Regions from separate parts of the Homo sapiens genome. Here region 1 is linked to region 2. Evidence: promoter capture Hi-C in 16 types of primary human blood cells and fetal thymus (Javierre and others, 2016). All regions are on one chromosome and are shown on one strand. Each heading gives the region's core, a stretch centred on a gene start or on the middle of the fragment in contact. The rest is flanking DNA. Distances are from core to core; before and after follow the strand shown. Region 1 overlaps EBF3 (EBF transcription factor 3). Region 2 holds the start of GLRX3 (glutaredoxin 3).

Region 1 (3,341 bases), core at 242-2,741, 260 kb after region 2:
AGAGAGTGGGTGTTTCAGCACAGACCCAAGCTCTGGGACCTCTTGGTTGTGGCCTTTTCAAGTTGAGGCAGAGGTTATACAGGGAGAAACCCCCCCACCCACTTTTCCTGTGGGTAGTGGTAGAGCCTGGCTTCCCAGGTTCTTTGAGTTCAGACTGGAAGCCAGCTCTCCTGCAATGTCACTGAGCATGCAGGAATGCGGAGGACAACATGATGACGTTTTAGTCACAGCATCTCAACACACTGTCAGGACCCCTGAATCTTCATGCCATGAAACATAAGGGCAAGGCATGGCGGGAAATGGAAATAGCACTCGCTTCGGCCTCACCTCCCCAGCCCTGCAGAGTGCTGTTCCTTGCTTTCTGCCTCAGCAACAGTTTCATTACCGCCTCAAGAATTCTTGGTTAAAACAATATGCCTCCCAATCAGTTCTTAGATTTTTTTTTTTTTTTTTTTTTTTGAGACCGATTTTCACTGTGTTGCCCAGGCTGGAGTGCAGTGGTGCAATCTCCGCTCACTGCAACCTCCACCTCCTGGGTTCAAGTGATTCTCCTGCCCCACCCCCCAATTGCTTTTTAAGAGCTGTACCTACTGTAACTCTTTTTTTTTTTTTTTTTTTTTTGAGACAGAGCCTTGAGCTGTCAACCAGGCTGGAGTGCACTGGCACGATCTCGGCTCACTGAACCTCCTGGGTTCAAGCGATTCTCCTGCCTCAGCCTCCCGAGTAGCTGGGATTATAGGCACATGCCACCGCACCTGGCTGATTTTTGTATTTTTAGTAGAGATGGGGTTTCACCATGTTGGCCAGGCTTGTCTCGAACTCCTGACCTCAAGTCATCTGCCCACCTCAGCCTCCCAAAGTGCTGGGATTACAGGCGCTACTGTAACTCTTAAAACCCATATTTAAAAGTGTGTTTGCTTAGGCAGTGGTAGCCTCTGGAATTAGGGTTGCCAGATAAGATATGGCACATCCAGTGAAATTTCCATTTCAGGTCAACAGCAATTTTTTAGTGAGGAGTATGCTTTGGGACATTATTTTTTGTTTATCCAAAATTCAAATTTAACTAGGCATCCTTCATTTTTAGTGGGTTGAGATGGTAGGCCTGTCTGGGCTGAATGTTTCCCCCATGGTTAATGGGCAGTTGTGCAAAGATTGAGCCAAGAAATGCCAATGCGAAAGTCGCAGCTATTATCATAAAGCTTGGACACCCACAGCGTCAAGGCAAATGCAACTCACTGCTCTCCTGTGTGGCTATTTCTGGGTGCCTCCTCGCCGCCTCTCCCAGAGCCTCTTCTCAATGTCGCCCCCTAGAGGGAAGTGTGGAAGCTGTGGGGTTGAGTCTCCACTCCTCCCTGCGCAAGAGTGTCTTTTAAAAAGTTTGAGTCTTTTGTCTGATAACCCTAATAAATATCATCTTTTTGTATTTTTTATAGATTCTTTCTAAAGTTTTTCCTCAAGTGCAATCAGAACTGTTTGAAGAATGCAGGCAACCCTCGAGATATGCGGAGATTCCAGGTATACATTTCTCAAAGACACGTGGACCGTGGTCCTGACTTTTCATACCAAATTTGAATTCTCTGATTTGCAACTGTTCAGGAAGTAATCTTGAGTTCTTTAAGGGCTTGGAAGCAAACTGGAATTGGTGCATTTGATAAAAATATGCAAATAAAATGCTTTAAGAATGATCTGGTATATTCAGTATGCCAGATTCATCAAGTCTAATGTGGGCACAATATAGCGAACAGCGAACTTAGCTTTGAAAACATGGCCATGTGGAAGCTTTTTTTTTTTTTTTTTTTTTGGAGACAGAGTCTTGCTCTGTATCCCAGGCTAGAGTGCAGTGGTGCGATCTTGGCTCACTACAACCTCCGCCTCCCAGGTTCAAGGGATTCTCCTGCCTCAGCCTCCTGAGTAGCTGGGATTACAGGCGCACACCACCACACCCAGTATTTTTAGTAGAGATGGGGTTTCAATATGTTTTCCAGGCTGGTCTCAAGCTCCTGACCTCAAGTAATCCGCCTGCCTTGGCCTCTGAAAGTGCTGGGATTACAGGCGTGAGCCACCGTGCCCAGCCCAGAAGTGCTTCTTTTGGGATTGATTGAGGGATTGATTTTCAGTGGGAGGAGAACTATAATGCAACCTTTTGGGAATACTCCAGATCTGAGATCCTCCTCATAGAGGGATCTGCACCTGCTTAGTACAGACCTCTGCAACTGCCAGAGTCTCTTCCTGGCCTCGGCTTCCTTCCCCCGAGGTTTACTGTGTTCTTATTGCCCACTTTCCATGCTAGTTGCATCTGTTCCTAAACTCAGGCTAAGTCCTGTCTCTGGTTTGCCTCAGAAGATTTTATCCAAAAGACGGATACAGAGGGGTAGCTGGGTGGGGGGGGGGGGGGGGTTCAGGGATGAATTATGATAGATTTATGTACCATTATGATAGATTCATATTTTTCTTGCCTTTTTTGTGAATGATTAGGAAGCTAATTCAGGGTAAACACATTGGATGATTTTGCTAATTTTAATTGTAAAAATAGTCTGGGCTAGAATACAAAACCAGCCAGAGAAGAATTTGGCGGCTAATGGAAATGACCACTAGCTTGGATGAATGACCCAAGAGCAGAATGATTCCTGTTTGGGATTTACCCAGTTTTTCCATCAAATAGCTCAAAGCATTTCTCAGAAATTTAACTTATGCCTCAGTCCTTTAGTGAATCACGTGACATCTGTCTCCATGCCTGCCCGGTCAGCTGGTCAGAGGAGGCGGGCTCTTTGGGCCCGCCCACAGTCATGTCTGCAGCTGGGGACAGTGTTTCCTGCGAACAGTTGGGTCTGCTTCCATTTGTCACGCACTAGGCTTCACAGGATACTGGTGATATTGATCCTTCTAAGCAGAATGGAAGTCAGGCAGGGCTGAGGGGCTGTGTCCTCTTTGTCTCACCAATGACTGAACACAGCGTCAGTTACAGGTGATCTCGTGGTTGACTGCAGACCCCGTAGTTACTAGAACTTCCTCTGGTCTCTTTAGCTGAGCCCCATGCCTCTCAGAAGGTGTAACTGACCTAGGAGGATGGCAGTGCTTACACAATAGTTTCAGCTGCTTTCACAATCTCAGCAGCTTTCTGTAGGTGCTACAGCCCAGGTGAGACACAGAGCACAGCTTGCCTGCTCTCTCTGCTGAACTACACTCTTTACCCTTCGTGGCTGACCTATATGTAGATGACTGCAAAGCCTGTGTCTTTAAAAACTTTTTAAATTTGTTTTTACTTTTTCATGTTTCTTTAACCTATCATGTTTAGGAACGTAAAAAGGGTTAAGTCTGCACCTCAGTGTTAGTTACGCATC
Region 2 (3,330 bases), core at 456-2,955:
ACAGAGCAACAGCCTGTCTCGAAAACAAACAAAACAAAATTTAGATCAATAAGCATTTCTGGCCGGACGTGGTAGCTCACACCTGTAATCCCAACCCTTTGGGAGGCTGAGGAGGGCAGATCGCTCGAGTCCAGAAGGTCGAGACGAGGCTGGGCAACATGGCGAGACCTCGTCTCTATAAAAAAAAATAAAAATTAGACGGGCGTGGTGGTGAGCACCTGTGGTCCCAGCTACTCGGGAGGATGAGGTGGGTCGATCACTTGAGCCTGGGAGGCGGAGGCTGCAGGGAGCCGTGATCGCTCCACTACACTGCAGCCTGGGTGACAGAGCCAGACCCTGTCTCAAAAACAAAACAAAACAAAGCTTTTTGCCTGTGAATTCCATGAACCATTCTACTTCCTACTGAAATACTAAGTGCCAACATCTACTGAGTGCTTCCTGCATACTAGGCATTGTATTATTTGTATTTTACATACGTCATCTCATTTAACCCTCACAACAACCCTGAGGTACTAACAGGTGCTAATCTATGTCACCGTCGGGAAACTGAGGCTTGGGCATGAAACGTGCCCAGGGGTTACATGGCTACTGAGTGGCTGCGGTGGGACTGGATCCCAGGCAATCCGACATAAGAGTTCCCATAACAACCGCTAATAATACAACTAAGAGAACAACTCAGTCCTTGGAGTAGTCTACAATGTGAGGTGGTATTATCACGGAGAGTCCACGTGCAGACCTTTCCCTGCAGGCACGCACGCTAGTAAGCATTTACTCGTAAGCATGCTTGCAGTTCAGAGCTTCTAGTCCACCCAGAAAACGCTTTCTATGCATTCCTCTGGATCTCCTTTTGTAGTCTTCCCAGGGATTGAAGACCTGGACACCGGCGCCAAATCTGAACAGACTCTCACTACACCAGTTCATGGAACAGGAAATCTCTGTCTCCGGCAACAGGTTAAGTCTGAAGACTGAGGCTACCTGCTGTCCAACAAACTTTAAAGGCTGACTTCAAAAGGCAGCCAGGCCTAGCTAATGCAACGGGGCCTTCCCTCGCCGCTCTTCCTGCGACAGGGGCGTTCCTGAAGGGAGGCTGAAGAGCAATGGGCCGACGCCGAGCCTGCCGCTCCCTCCCGGCGGGCACAGGAAAGGTGGAGCCCGCAGCCGTGGGTCCCGCTCCGTGGCGCGGAGGGCCGGGGTCTCGGCGCCGCCCCGTCCCCCGCCCCGCCACTGCGGCACGGCTGAGTCACCACCGCCTCCGTCCCGCGGCGGGGCCGCCCAGGCCAGAGGCCGGGAAGGTCGCGTCCCCCGGGCTTGGACAGCCGTCGGGGTCGGAGCCAGGGCTGGGGCCGGGGCTTCCAGGCGAGCCTCGCGCCCTGCTCGCTGTTCCGGGGCGGGGAACCTGCGGCTCGGGCCACTCACGCGGAGGCTCGGGGGAGTCTACGGGTGGCGCCGGGCCCGGTCCCCCGAGGCCGAAGGGAGCCGGGCACCAAGAAGCCAGGCTGGGCCACCCGCCGCCCCACACCGGCCCGGTCTCGCGGCCGCTCCCGCTCCGGCTCCTCACTCCTACCGCTCGCCGCCCCGCTTACTTGGCTTTGAGGCGCAGCAGCTCCTCAAACTGCCCGGCTGAGCCGACCTCCTCCACGGCCGCTACAGCTGCCTCAGCCGCCCCCGCCGCCATGCTGCCGCCGCCAGACAGAAGCAATCCAGTGCCGGCGGCCGGATGTGGGCGGGGCCACGGGGAGCTGAGCGGCTGCGCGAGGGAAAGCCCCGCCCCTGCCTGCGCTGAGGCTGCCGAGCCTGAGAAATCCCAAAAGGGGCCTCGGCGGCGGGCTCTGGATCCCGCTGGGGGGCTCTGACCCTGCCAAGTCTGGGCACTCCGCTGCGGGCCTCCTGGCTCCCGGGGTTCATGGCTGTTATGGTTCCTGGCTGTCGGGGCTCCTGGCTTTCGGGGCTCCCTGGCTGAAGGGGCTCCTGGCTGTAGGGGCTCCTGGCTATGGAGGTTCCCGGTTATAAGGGCTTCTGGATGTAGTGGATTCTGGCCGTCGAGGTCCCTGGCTGTCGGGGCTCCTGGCCGTAATGGCCCCTGGCTGTCGGGACCCCTGGGTGTCGGGGTTCCTGGCTGTCGGGACCCCTGGGTGTCGGGGTTCCTGACTGTAGGGGCTCCTGGGTGTTAGGGTTCCTGGCTATAGCAGGGGCTCCTGGGTGTCGGGGTTCCTTGCTGTCAGGGCTCCTGGTGGTAGAGGCTTCTTGCTGTTGGCTTCCTGGCTGTCGGGGTGACTGGGTGTCAGGGCTCCTGGTGTTAGGGTTCCTGGCTTCCTGGCTGTAGTAGGGGCTCCTGGGTGTCGGGGTTCCTTGCTGTCAGGGCTCCTGGTGGTAGAGGCTTCTGGCTGTTGGGGTTCCTGGGTGCCAGGGCTCCTGGGTGTCAGGGTTCCTGGCTGTCAGGACACCTGACTCCTGAGGCTCCTGGCTTTTGGGGCTCCAGACCTTCCTTGCACTTCCTGTGTCTCCTGGGTCTGTAATAGAAGGGGCCGGTGGAGGGGTGGGGGTGAGACATGTGAGTGAAAGTGAAGTCAGATGTGTACATTTAGGAAGCTGAAATTATCAAAAATGAAATTGCATAAAGGTGAGGAAGAACTGGGAGGTCTGGGAACAGAAGTGGTAGATCTTGAACTTCAACACAGACAGGGTGCTTCCAATTCAGTCCTGGGACCTGAACCCGGAGCCCACAGCATGTCCCTCCTCCCCTGGCCCTCCGCGCGTGCCGCCACTCATTGCAGCCCCACAGAGCCATCACCCATTGTAACCTCAGAACAGAAGGGGCTGGGTGGGTCCACAGATCCCTGCACTCCTCCCGTCTTGCCTCCTTGGATGATCCCTGGCTTGTCTTTCTCCCTTGGGAATCCCCCTGATGTTGGCTCTCCATGTGGTGTACTCTGTACCCCACACCCCATGCTTCCCACACACCTTCTGGCCTGAGTAATCTCCATGCCCCCAGTGACATCAACCTCCAGGGAAACCTCAATAGCAAGCCCAGAACCCTCCCCTGCATCCCAGAGCCTAGCATCCACTAACTTTGAGGAGGGGCCATCTTTTATTGGATATCCCCAAACCACACTGGGCCTTCCCTCCAAAGTGCCTCTCCTCTTGGTTCCCATCTCAGGGAACACCATCGCTCCCACCCAGACACTTGGGGCTCCTTCTGACTGGTCCCCCTGCTGTCCCTGGGCTTTGAGGCCAAGCCCCCACAGAGCCTTCCCTACTAGCCAGGTGTTCCCAGGCCTCCTTTGCTTGCTTCTACCGTGGCCTGTCTCATGTTGTAGAACTGTGCTTGTC

What was found. The method cuts DNA at HindIII sites, captures the fragments that hold promoters and counts their contacts. A CHiCAGO score of 5 or more calls a contact.
Region 1: a contact is called between a fragment that was not itself captured here and the fragment with the promoter of GLRX3 in region 2, in 5 of 17 cell types (activated CD4 T cells, naive CD8 T cells, total CD8 T cells and 2 more). The highest score is 8.4, in activated CD4 T cells.

Annotation. Positions count from the first base shown.
Region 1 is chr10:129,875,942-129,879,282 of GRCh38, reverse strand. EBF3 (EBF transcription factor 3) reads left to right here. Exons shown (of 17, transcript NM_001375380.1): 7 at 1,434-1,515. Among named protein-coding and RNA genes, the nearest start is that of EBF3-AS1, 20 kb to the right of the region's middle. The HindIII fragment of the contact is 580 bases long and covers 1,202-1,781 here.
Region 2 is chr10:130,134,766-130,138,095 of GRCh38, reverse strand. GLRX3 (glutaredoxin 3) reads right to left here and starts at 1,705. Exons shown (of 11, transcript NM_006541.5): 1 at 1,584-1,705. The coding sequence starts at 1,675. It overlaps LOC105378561 (a long non-coding RNA gene), which reads left to right and starts at 1,725. Exons shown (of 6, transcript XR_001747659.2): 1 at 1,725-3,330. RefSeq lists enhancers at 1-595, 874-923 and a silencer at 1,124-1,723. The HindIII fragment of the contact is 5,217 bases long and covers 366-3,330 here.